4 separate regions of the Homo sapiens genome follow, and all the other regions are linked to region 4. Evidence: promoter capture Hi-C in 16 types of primary human blood cells and fetal thymus (Javierre and others, 2016). All regions are on one chromosome and are shown on one strand. The core of a region is centred on a gene start or on the middle of the fragment in contact, and the rest is flanking DNA. Distances in the headings are between cores, read along the strand shown. Region 1 overlaps RAD51B (RAD51 paralog B). Region 2 overlaps RAD51B (RAD51 paralog B). Region 3 overlaps RAD51B (RAD51 paralog B). Region 4 holds the start of RAD51B-AS1 (RAD51B antisense RNA 1).

Evidence for each region. Contacts are between HindIII fragments. The CHiCAGO score rates a contact against its expected background, and 5 or more counts as called.
Region 1: a contact is called between a fragment that was not itself captured here and the fragment with the promoter of RAD51B-AS1 in region 4, in 1 of 17 cell types (non-activated CD4 T cells). The highest score is 5.7, in non-activated CD4 T cells.
Region 2: a contact is called between a fragment that was not itself captured here and the fragment with the promoter of RAD51B-AS1 in region 4, in 7 of 17 cell types (M0 macrophages, non-activated CD4 T cells, total B cells and 4 more). The highest score is 7.6, in M0 macrophages.
Region 3: a fragment that was not itself captured here is called in contact with the fragment with the promoter of RAD51B-AS1 in region 4 in 6 of 17 cell types (M0 macrophages, M2 macrophages, total B cells and 3 more); the score reaches 8.3 in M0 macrophages.

What each region holds. Positions count from the first base shown.
Region 1 is chr14:68,420,357-68,423,467 of GRCh38, forward strand. All of the region lies in intron 9 of RAD51B (RAD51 paralog B), which reads left to right. It also overlaps the pseudogene PPIAP6. Among named protein-coding and RNA genes, the nearest start is that of RAD51B-AS1, 260 kb to the right of the region's middle. The HindIII fragment of the contact is 1,658 bases long and covers 872-2,529 here.
Region 2 is chr14:68,370,064-68,373,003 of GRCh38, forward strand. The region is part of intron 8 of RAD51B (RAD51 paralog B); the gene reads left to right. Among named protein-coding and RNA genes, the nearest start is that of RAD51B-AS1, 310 kb to the right of the region's middle. RefSeq lists an enhancer at 2,120-2,940. The HindIII fragment of the contact is 2,982 bases long and covers 30-2,940 here.
Region 3 is chr14:68,400,130-68,403,300 of GRCh38, forward strand. The region is part of intron 8 of RAD51B (RAD51 paralog B); the gene reads left to right. LOC101927971 (a long non-coding RNA gene) reads right to left here. Exons shown (of 4, transcript XR_245776.5): 2 at 170-342. Among named protein-coding and RNA genes, the nearest start is that of RAD51B-AS1, 280 kb to the right of the region's middle. The HindIII fragment of the contact is 1,372 bases long and covers 1,006-2,377 here.
Region 4 is chr14:68,683,813-68,686,977 of GRCh38, forward strand. It overlaps RAD51B-AS1 (RAD51B antisense RNA 1), which reads right to left and starts at 1,628. Exons shown (of 4, transcript XR_007064220.1): 1 at 1,559-1,628. RefSeq lists enhancers at 1-332, 1,916-1,965. The HindIII fragment of the contact is 3,133 bases long and covers 1-2,874 here.

The sequences.
Region 1 (3,111 bases), core at 451-2,950, 260 kb before region 4:
TTAAGAAAGTAAAGGAATAAAGTATGGCTACTCCACAGCACAGCAACCCGAAGAGCTGCTGGCTCGCTATTTTTATGGGTTTTTTTTTTATTATATGCTAAACAAGAAGTGGATTATTCATGAGTTTTCCTGTAAAGAGGTGGGCAATTCCCAGAACTGGGCGTTCCTCCCCTTTTTAGACCATATACGGTAACTTCCTGATGTTGTCATGCCATTTGTAAACTGTCATGATGTTGGTGGGAGTGTCTTTTAACATGCTAATGCATTATAATTAGCGTATAATGAGCAGTGAGGACACCAGAGATCATGTTCATCATCATCTTGGATTGGTGGGCTTTGGCCAACTTCTTTACTGCAACCTGCTTTATCAGCAATGTCTTTGTGACCTGTATCTTTTCTGACCTCCTATCTCATGCTGTGACTTGGAATGCCTAACCTCCTGGGAATACAGACCAATAGGTCTCAGCCTTATTTTTACAGCTTGTTTTCAAGACAGAGTCACTCTGGTTCAAATGCCTCTGACAGTTATCACTGTTTTAATTTAGGAATAAAATGAGGTGCTAGAAAAGGAGGCCTTGACTTGGTGATGATTCTGCTGGGTTGCAATGAATGGTCCTTATTATCTTCCTCTCTGACTTTCCTGAACGATGATTAGACCTAGAATGTCATTTGGTTTACCTGTAAAACTTAGTGAGTTATGTATTAGGATAGCCCCTCCCACCCTGGGGCAGGAACATGAAAGCAGTGAGATGAGGAGCTTCTTCTTGCTTTTTTTCTCTTGCTCTAGGCATTATTTGACTTTGAAATACTCCTGGCATTTTCCTGTGATTCTGAAGTGCCCCTTCCTCTGCTTGTGTGTGTGAGATTTGAAAGCTTATCACACATGTGGCTAAAGCAGGTCCAGCTTGGAGCATTCGTCTTCTGGCTGCTGTTGCTGGGGGAGTATCCCTGCTGTGAGATGCTACGCCGCCTGAGCCTGTGGCCTCTGCTTATCTCCTGGGGTGGCTGTGGCTGTGAGGTGCACAGCATGGTACAATGCTAGTTTTCATTTCAAGTCCTTTCTTGATGTCACTGATGGGTGCAATGAGTGGAGTGGGGGGACCTCAGGCCCTTCCAAATTCTTTCTTTTTTGTTGTTGTTATTTAGTTTTTATTTCATAATCATAAACTTAACTCTGCAATCCATCTAGGCATGGGAGGGAACAAGGAAAACATGGAACCCAAAGGGAACTGCAGCGAGAGCACAAAGATTCTAGGATACTGCGAGCAAACGGGGTGGAGGGGTGCTCTCCTGAGCTACGGAAGGAATGGTCTGGTGGTTAAGATAAAACACAAGTCAAACTTATTCGAGTTGTCCACAGTCAGCAATGGTGATCTTCTTGCTGGTCTTGCCATTCCTGGACCCAAAGCACTCCATGCCTCCACAATATTCGTGCCTTCTTTCACTTTGCCAAAGAGCACGTGCTTGCCATCCAACCACTCAGTCTTGGCAGTGCAGATGAAAAACTGGGAACCATTTGTGTTGGGTCCAGCATTTGCCATGGACAAGATGCCAGGACCTGTATGCTTTAGGATGAAGTTCTCATTTTCAAATTTCTCCGTGTAGATGGACTTGCCACCAGTGCCATTATGGTGACTTCACAGTCACCACCCTGACACATAAACCCTGGAATAATTCTGTGAAAGCAGGAAACCTTATAACCAAATCCTTTCTCTCCAGTGCTCGGAGCACGAAAATTTTCTGCTGTCTTTGGGATCTTGTCTGCAAACAGCTCGAAGGAGACATGGCCCAAGGGCTCGCTGTCGACGGCAAATTCAAAGAACATGGTGGGGTTGACCATGGCTAATAGTACACGGTTTTCCTCAGCGGTGGCGTCCGCAGAGCACCCAAATTCTTAATAGCTTATAAAATTAGGGGTAGAGGAGGTTGGGTGCGGCAGCTCACGCCTGTAATCCCAGCACTTTGGGAGGCCGAGGCAGGTGGATCACGAGGTCAGGAGTTTGAGCCCAGCCTGGCCAAGGTGGTGAAACCCCGTCTCTACTAAAAATACAAAAATTAGCCAAGTATGGTGGCAGACACCTGTAATCCCAGCTACTTGGGAGGCTGAGGCAGGGAATTGCTTGAACCCGGGAGGTGGAAGTTGCAGTGAGCCAAGATCGCACCACTGCACTCCAGCCTGGGTGACATGGCGAGTCTCCATCTCAAAAAAAAAAAAAAAAAAATTAGGGGTAGAGGAATGGGAAGCAGACAAAAGGTTTACATTGTGGAGGTTTGAGGAGAAATGAATCAAATAAGTCTCTAGCATTCTGTTTGACTTTATGTTAGTCTGATTATGTTACCATAACATTTTATGATATGCTACACATTATCTGATGGGTGATTAATTTTCAAATGTAATACAAATCATTGAGCTTTCCTGATTTCTGCCGCTGTAAATAATTTGGAATTTTCAGTTACTGCAAAGTTGACATAGTCACTCCTTCCTTCCTGTAACCTTCACCTTACCTTGTTGTCCCCTCCCTGCCCCCAAGCTTCCCTGGATTTTTAAATCAGCCAGTGGCTCCTGGCAACTGTCTTAGAATGCTTGAAGCCGAGGTTTTTTTTCACTGAGGGTCTCTTTCTAGAAGTTTCTCTTCTTACCTTGGCAGAGCTTAAGAGTTCTTGCATCTCAGACAAAGACTGTGTGTGCTTGACTGTTGGACATTCATTTTATTGTTACAAAGGGACCATGATTTTGAGAACACCTTTGGAGAGCCCAGCTCCCATGGTTGTATCCCACTGCCCATTTTCTGAATCCTCAACTCAGAATTGGCAATGAAAGAGTGAACTGGGATTATGATCTGTGATTCTCTAACAGAATTCTCTGAGAGTCAAACTCCAGAAAGAGGCTCATCTTTACAAACCTTAAAGAATTAGAGCTAAGGCACCTGGTATGTCTGGGAGGGATTGAAAACAATCCCCCCAAAGCCCCAGCGGCCCTGGCTCTCTGGTTGCTATGCTGAGTTGATTCATCCATTTATTGAGAGTCTACTTTGTACCAGTTATTCTGCTAAGTGCTTTGTGGGCATTTTCTTTTTCAAGCCTCACGAAAACTCTGAGGTGGGTATTACT
Region 2 (2,940 bases), core at 271-2,770, 310 kb before region 4:
ATGCCTAGTGTTCCATTAGTGGAACACTAAGCTTGTGGGAGTTATTTATATCCTCATGCTTAAGCTCATCACCAAGGTCTGATTTTTCACATAAAAATTTTGCAACCTCTGGCATAAATGGGTTAACAAGAAGGAAGGGATTTGCCTGTTACAAGATCTGTCTGTAATCACATATAGCCATTGGCAGAAATTACAGTTTACATTTAGAAGACATGTTTAAAACTCTTTACCAAAGGGCAACTGATCCAATAATAATGATAGCAACAACAATAACATCTATTTATGGCACCTAATAATTTTAAAGTTCCTTTGTGTACGTAGTTTTATATTCACAACAACCTAGTAAGGCCTGTAAGTTGACTGGAGAGGGCTAGGGTATGTAAAACTAGGTAAAGAACTTGGATTTTATCCTAAGCATAATGCAAAGTTTTCAGCCAGGGATGGACATGACTTGACTGACAGTTTAGGAAGATTACTTGGCCTGCTCTGTAGGAGTATAGACTGTAAGGGGGCCACATGAAAGCCAGGAGACAAGTCAGCAAACATAACACTAATCCAGGAGAGAGATTATGGTGGCTCAGACTGGGGGGTGTGGTATAGGGGATGGCAAGTGGTCAGATTCAAGATAAATATGAAGACATTCCTTACAAAATCTGCAAACAGATTGAATGTGAAGTGTATTTTAAAAAATGAAGAATTGGCCGGGCGCAGTGGCTCATGCCTGTAATCCCAGCACTTTGGGAGGCTGAGGCGAGCAGATCACGAGGTCAGGAGTTCGACCCAATATGGTGAAACCCCATCTCTACTAAAAATACAAAAAAAAATTAGCCGGACGTGGTGGCACACACCTGTAGTCCCAGCTGCTCAGGAAGTGGAGGCTGGAGAATCACTTGAACCTGGGAGGTGGAGGCTGCAGTGAGCCAAGACTGTGCTGCTGCACTCCAGCCTGGGCAACAGAGCAAGACTCTGTCTCAAAAAAAAAAAAAAAAAAAGAAAAAAAGAAAAGAAAATTAAAAAAAAAGAATTATCTGTGTATTTTTTATCTTAAACAACTGAGAATGGTGTCATTTTTTCCATTCCTAGAGTTATTTAGGCCAAAAAAATCTAGAATGTTGAAGAGAACAGATTGGGGTGGGAGGTGCAGGTTAGGGGATTAAGAGTTCTGTCCTAGAGGGCCGGGTGTGGTGGCTTACGCCTGTAATCCCAGCACTTTGGGAGGCTGAGGTAGGCAGATCACAAGGTCAAGAGATGGAGACCATCCTGGCCAACGTGGTGAAACCCCGTCTCTACTAAAAATACCAAAAATTAGCTGGGCGTGGTGGTGCATGCCTGTAGTCCTAGCTACTTGGGAGGCTGAGGCAGAAGAATTGCTTGAACGCGGGAGGCGGAGGTTGCAGTGAGCTGAGATCACGCCACTGCATTTCAGCCTGGCGACACAATGAGACTCCATCTGAAGAAAAAAAAAAGGGGTTCTGTCCTAGAATAGTTGCATTTGAGATATGTAAGTGACCGGGCGTGGTGGCTTCCAGCACTTTGGGAGGCTGAGGCAGCAGGATTGCTTAAGCCTAGGAATTCAAGACCAGTTACCTGGGCAACAAACACAGTGAGACCCTGTCTCTACAAAAAAAATAAACAAAATTAACCAGGCCTGGTGGTGTGCACCTGTAGTCCCAGCTACTTGGGGGGCTGAGGTGGGAGAATGGCTTGGGCCTGGAAGGCCAAGGCTACAGTGAGCCCTGATTGTGCCACTGCACTCCAACCTAGGCCATAGTGTGAGACCCTGTCTCAAAAAATAAATAAATAAGAAGAGAAAGATATGCAAGTGGACAATGACAAAGCAGCTGAATAAATGAGTCTGAGTCTAGAGCTCAGGAGAATGGGCTGAGCTGTAGTGAGAATATGGCAGAGATTGATCCTGGGGATACATCAACATTTAGAATAGAAGAGAAACCTGCAAAGGAGACTGGCAGGGAGGAGAGGATCAGGTGGGAAGAAATCCATGAGAGTGTGCTTTTTCTGGAAGCCAAGTGAAGCTAATATTTCAAGAAGCAAGGAGTTAGGTCCAGTGCTGCTAAGAGGTCCAATAAGATGAGGACTGAGAATTGACCCTTGGATTTGGCAGATACAATCAATGGTGACCTTGACAAGAGTGATTTCAGTAGAGTGTAGGGGACATAAGCCTGCCTGGGGTAGGTTAAAGAGAAAAACAAAGAGCATGTTCAATTCTTTAAGGTTTTTCACTACAAATGGAAACAGTGAAATGGAGTGGTAGCTGGGGAAGTCAAAGGAGGTTTTTTTTTTAAGGTGGGTGTTTTTTATTTCGCATTTTGATATTGATGTACATAATGCAGCAAAAAGAGAACATGTAGTAATGCTGGAGAGGAAAGGATAGGTAACCATTGGTAAAAGACCTCAAAGGTATTAGAAGGGATTGAGATGCTCGTCCAAGTGTATGGGCTGGCCTTAGGCTGAAGCAAGACTGCTTCAAGAGATACAAAAGCAAATTCATTACCCTAAGAATGGAGTACATCACAGCAGGATTCCTGGAGAGAAACAGAAAAGAGGGTCATTAAAAACTTATGTCACCACTTTAAAGAGGGAAGAAAGTTCTGTTTGGCTCTTTTGGGGACTCCAGAAGAAAAGTAAAGGTATACTCATAAGCCCAACTTTTTAACTTTCTAGTTACCAGAACACCAAACAAGGATCTTAGAATATCAGATTTTCAATTAACCCTAGAAAACTAACAGCATTTGAGTAGAATTCAAATATATGTGAGAGAACATAATACATAAATACCATCTGGGAAGTTCTCTAATCAACATTCTCCTTCCCTAGCACTCACTGTTGGATCTGTAGTACATGCATATGTGAGTGAAGAGCTCTTTCACAAATATGAAAGAAGCATAGTATGGATGTAGGGTGATGATTTACTTAGTGTGG
Region 3 (3,171 bases), core at 442-2,941, 280 kb before region 4:
CCTGGGTTTGCCTTGTGAGCTGATTTCCTGAAGGCAAACCACATGACTGCTGGTGTGTCCCCTTGCTGTTCAGTCAAGTGGGTGGCCACCTGGCTTTCTCCTTGTCCCAAAGTACTTCGTTGGATATGTAAAGCGACCAAATGTTACTTCACTGTAGTTTGAATCTTACCCAGAAAGAGTGACTGGTAAAGGACATGCCACTTTGCACCCTTCCCAGCTCTCTCCAAAGGCAGCTGGCTGAATGCACACTTCTGAGGGTGATGTTTTTTCCAGCACTCAGGGATATACCCAGTGTGAGATCAGAATCAGCAGCTGTATTCATTCTGCCTCAGCCAGTGCCATCTGAAACAAACATCAAGTGGTCAAAAAATGAGATGGTGACCATGTATAATACACAAGACTTATTAGAATTCAACTCTGGTATCCGCCTGCTGCCTCTGACTCTACAATGGGAGCAGGAAAGCAAAGCTCATACCAGGACAGCTGAAAGGTGTGGTCTGAGGATTTCATGGTGAACAGATAGAACACACTGTGGGGGAAAAAAAACATATTTTATGCAAGCATCTTTCTGGCTTGTCTTGAATGAAGCTAAATTTAAAGAGAAAGTGCCACAGATTTCTTTAAATGGTTAGGTTTTTGTTTTCTTTGTTTTATTTTGCTAGTATTTACTTAAGGGTAATATGTGTTTTCTGTAATGAGTGAATTTATTTTTAATTAAAAACTTATTTGCAAAGGTCAAGAGATTTCACTACAAGTCACCATTCAGGATTTTTTTTTTCCTTTCCTTAAGTAGAAGGTAGCAAGGGGAAAGCTGTATTGGAGAAAAGGTTCAGGGGCATGGCCTCCTGGAGAATGTTGGGAGTTGAGCTGATGGGAGGAGATTGCTTCTTTTTATTCAGACAATCTAGTTCTGTTCTTCTTATGCCTACTATTGTTTTCCTTGCCATCTTTGAGACCTTGATGATCGACACTGCAGACACAGCAGAGAATCCTAGTACAGACTGAAGCTTTTCGTATAAAGTGAGCATGCTCACTGTGATTCTGGACAGTTCCTACATAGTATCTCTGTAGGATAACATATGTCTTGGTTTTCTCAGGGCAAGCTCAGTTTATCTCTGTTATCCCAGTATAACTATTAAAATGTCCCCATTTCATTTTCAAAAATGTCCTGGTTGGATAAGAACTTAAAGTATTTTGTTAAGACTCTGGGAAACTGAAGGTATTTTCTCCCTGTCCATGAGCCAGTGGAGTTGTTGAGTGATTTGTGCTGGTGCATACCAGTCTCTAGCCTAGTGGATGGCTCACCCCCGCTTCTCCCCTACCTTGTGCTATGGAGGATCCATCCCTAACTCTTGCATTCCAGAGGTTCTGATTGCCTCACTTCTTCCTGTCTTCTGCTTCACATTTCTTACCTTTCTCAGTAACGAGTTTGCTGAGACTTGCATCAGCCTAGGTATGTTGTGCAAGTAAAGCCTCTGGACTGCATTCACTCCTTTCACCTCCAGCCAAGAGACATCAGGAATGAAATTTTCTGCTTTACTAAAGTGAAGCAGCCCATTCTTTACCAGCCAAATGCCTTCCTCGGTGGGTAAATGGTATTAGTTGAAGCAGTTATTACATAGTTTTATGCCTCAGATCCTGTATTTATAAATCTGAAAGACGACTAATAGCTTTAAAGTATTTTGAGAATCTCAAAGCTCAGAAGATTATAAATAACAAAAGATATATTTTTTCGTATCTAAAATGGTAGCACAAATACTGCGGTTGCTTACTTAATAGATAGCGTGTGGTCCCTGAGCCATTGCAGCTGATGGGTTTTTTCCAGTGCTCTATTTATAGAGCTAGGTCAGAAATATCACTTCCGTTGGAACCTGACCTATAGACCATTGTCAATTTTAGAGACCCAAGGAAGTAGAATGCACCCTAAATACAGCTGGTTCACAGATTCAGTTAGTGAACCACAAGCCCTCAAGGAAATTAATTTTGCTGGAAGATAAATGTCTGAGCCTATCCCAGTCTCTTTTCTTTGACACCTTTGTCCTGTGGTCTCACAGAGCTTGTAGGTCATCTTGAATCTTTATTCTAAAAATAACCTATTATAGGCAGTTTCCCAGCTTTAATAACTTACTCATCCTCTTCGCCTTTTGTTGCTAAAATTCTGCATTGAATGGAACAAGAACTGATGACCTGCCAAGAGAGGTAACCAAGATTCTCAGTCCCTTCCCCAGTTCAAATGGATGGTCCAATAAAGAACCATGCTCAGCAAGTGCCAGGGGCCTAGTTTTAAACAGGAGAAGCTGAATTGAATGGATGATGAATTGAATGAATGAATTGAATCCTTCTGATCCCTAGTCTCGCACTCAGACTCCCGTCTTTAAGCTTTGTTACTATGAAGTTGTGTTTGCTGGGACTTGGCCACTGGTCAGCACAGGTTTACCCATCATAAAGTCTTACTAAGTAGGGTAGACTAAGAAAATCTCTAGTCTGGAGAGAAATCTGCTATCAGCAAAAGAACCCATGCCTGTGCTCTTTTCAAGCACAAACGGGTGCTGGGTAGGGCACAGCGATTCAAAGACAGCGCATGGAGTGGTGCATTCTCAAACTTCCTGGAACAAGTGAGGTTCTCGATGAGGAACTCATTCATATCATCAAAATACCAAAGACTCAAAGTTTTTTAATAAGGCAGGAACTATTGAGGTCATTTACCCCTTCTTGTCATGGATGAGGAAACTGAGGCTCAGTGAGGTTAGGTAACTGCTCATTACCAAGGCCTACTCTGAGGTTCTTTGTTACACTACTCTCCTTCTCCCACCTGGTCTCATCAAAAGCCCAGACGGAGTCAGAAATAGAACTGCAGGGTCCTGCTTTCTAGCCAGCAGCTGGCCACAGGCTATCATGCATTACATGGAATGTGCTTCAGGACGTGAGGACAAGAGATATGAACGAGAATGCAGTTCCAGTGGTAACATACCATCTTCTTCCCTGGATTTATTTCAATCCTGAAAACATTTGTAGGTATTGTTATTCCTTTATTTTTTTAAATTTCCTCTTTCTACTCTAAATAAATGGGCTTTCATCTGCAGGGACTGGAGGGACCAAATATCCAGAATATCCAGTCCGCTAAGGCCATGAACTTTTCCTTCCCCTCTGTTCCTATTTTGGGAGTCATTG
Region 4 (3,165 bases), core at 378-2,877:
AGCCCAGTTCAGTCACTGCCTCTGTCCCATGCTCTTAGTCTCATGGCTCTCAGGAGCAGGACACAAGAGACGGTTATGCCCAAGCACAGAACACTCTTGGAAAGCCATCCTTTCCCTTCTGCTGACATTCTGACCCCCTCAAGGGTTGTCCATGGGGAACAGGCTTTCTGCACCCAATTGACCAAAAAATAACAGAAGCCTTCTCCTTAAGAAAGAGAGCAGGCCAGACACAGTGGCTCACGCCTATAATCCCAGTGCTTTGGGAGGCTGAGGTGGGAGAATTGCTTGAGCCCAGGAGTTCAAGACCAGCCTGGGCAACACAATGAGACCTCGTCTCTACAAAAAAACTTAAAAATTAGCCAGGCATGGTCTCAGCTACTCAGGAAGCTGAGGTGGGAGGATTGCTTGAGCCCAGGAGGCTGAGGCTGCAGTGAGCCGTGATCATGCCACTGCACTCCAACCTGGACAATAAAGCAAAAGATCCTGCCTCAAAAAAGAAGAAAGAGAACAGAGCCCTACAGAGAAGGAAGAAGGCAGGCACATTGTCACTTTTGCTCTCAAGCTCCCTGGATCTCTCCTAGAGGAGAGACCCCCAAACCTGCCTGCACTCCGCAGGAGCTGACTGGGGGAGGACCCTTTCCAGGGACACCTCCCTGGAGGTGCTCTAATATTTGGCTGCTTGGCCATTCTGGGCCAAGAAGACTCCTTCCCTAGCCCAGGACCATTAGTCTCCCTGATGATTGCTGCAGAAAGGCCCAATTTTCAGGGCCCTACCTAGCCCTTCAATACCTTTGAGCCACCCATCTTGTCTGAGCCAGAGTCCTAAAGCCAGTCCTGAGCTTCAAGACCCATGCTTGCCCTGGCCACTGCTTCCCCTGGGAGAGCTGCCTGGCTTCCTGCAGAGAGCTGGCCTGCAAGTTGGAAGGGCATATTCTCCTCCCGGCTCCCTGGCTAAATTGCTATAGAATTTCAGGTCACTCAAGTGAACTTTCTGTGACTATTTTTTCCTCCCTTCAAGATTTATCAACTATTAATTGGAGCCTCTAGATGCCTGCAATGTGGAGGTCCTGAGAATTCAATACAGAATAATACAAATGCAGTTCTTCCTGTGAAGCCTGGACAACCTTTCCCTTCCTTCCTTCCTTCTTTCCTTCCTTCCTTCCTTCCTTCCTTCCTTCCTTCCTTCTTTCTTGAGTTTCCTGATGCCAGCTCCTCAGATGGTGAGCCAGCGGTGGGAAGGTAGTGGTGGGGGTGATTATAAATACAATAAGAAATAAACCCACACACTGCAAAACTCCATGTTAATACTATTAATAGTATTTCCAAATTGCATACAGGTAGAAGACAGTTCCTTAGCAACATGATCGTAATGAGAATTCCACAAGGGCATCTGGAATTTACTCTGTCAGACATTCCAGCTTATCAGGAAATGAAAAGGACCAAGACTATCATATAATGTGCAAACTATGCTAATGCCTATCACTAGTGTATATCAGACCCCAGTTACAGGACTGACCCATGGGACTCCCCTTGTCTCAGCTTTAATCACATGAAGTACCTGAGGCCTGTTGTCCTCCTCGGGGCTCAATGCCTTCTTGCGGCCAGGTCCTTCGTATAATTCAAGAGTTGAAATCACTGTCAACACAGCCCTTTGACTAATGTTCCGGGGTGACAGGCCTGGCACGTGAACACATGAGTGATGCTATTATCCCCCAAATCACAGGTGAGTGAGGTCTCTGGAGATGTCCACCCCCACATGAATTTCCCTTTGTGGTAGCAGTAACATCTGAGTCACTAAGCATGGGGCCACAATTTAGGCTCACTCCCTCCCCTTCCTGTGCCCCAAAAGGGGGCTGAAGGCGGGTCCTCACAGCAGAAAAAGCTCCACTTCCTCCGAGCTCCAGACAGCACATCTCAGCTGTGTTGGGCCTTACAAGGCTGCGGTCAACAGGCACCCAGGTGATGAGGTCTTTCTCAGCCTGTTGTTCTCTTGTTAGCCCTTTGATGTTTCAAAGCTGACGAGGTCAGCATCTTCCAGGCTGCAGGAAACATGCCTGCCAGGTATACCTTTCAAGCAGCTGATTAATATGTCATGTGGTCTCTGGTCAGAGGAGAGTGTAAGGGCTGTTGAAATGACTCACCAGCTCAGCTCCCGTGTCTTTGGGAAACGCTACCCTGTCAGCAAGAGGCCTCCAGCTGAAAAGTAAAGACACAGATCTGAAAGGGTACAGTTCTAGCGTCCAACAAACTATTATACATCCTAAATGAAGTGAGAAATGGTAGGCTCTTCACCTGCCAGGGCCTGGCGGGGCCTGTGTCCCAGGACTGCTTAGGAATCCAAGCCTCGCACTGTTTATCCATTATACTGATGAGAAGCCTGTGAGACAGGGAGGCTTGCTGGGCCTCCAAAGTCCACTTGCTGGCTTGTTACTTGGCACCATCAGATCTACGCTAGGGATGGTGTAACTAGAGCCTTTGAGTGCATGAAAAGTCTGTGGCCTGACAAAGCACTTACTGACCAAGGAAAATCAACTTCAGGTGCAGCAGGAAAGGTCTGGTACCCAGAATGTCTGGGGTTTTGAGACACTGGAAAAGATTGCCTAATAATGTCATGGGCTCCCTTCCCTGGAAATAATCTGAAAATAGGATAAGTTCCCTCCAATCTTGGATGGGTCAACCTCGTCTTGAGGTAAGGAGACGGTTACATCAACCCATGGAGAGGGCCTGTCAGCAACTCTGAGTCTATTAGAGGGTATATTTTCAAACACAAAAAACTTTTTATCCTGGTAAAATATACCTAACGTAAAAGCTACCATTTTACCCATGTTTAAGTGTACAATTCAGTGGCATTAAGTACATTCACATCGTTGTATAAGCTTCCCCGTCATCTCTCTCCAGAACTTTTTCATCTTTCCAAACTGAAACTCTGTGCCCATTAAACACTGACTCCTCTTTCCCCTCCTCACAGCCCCTGGCAACTACCATTCTCCTTTTCATCTTTATGATTTTGACTACTCTAAGTACCTTGCATACGTGGAGTCACGCAGGGTTCTTGTGTGACGGGCTTGTTTCACTTAGCACAATGTCCTCAAGTTTCATCCATGTTGTAGCATGTGTCAAAATTTCATTCCTCTTGAAGGCTGAATACTATTCCATTGTGTGTGC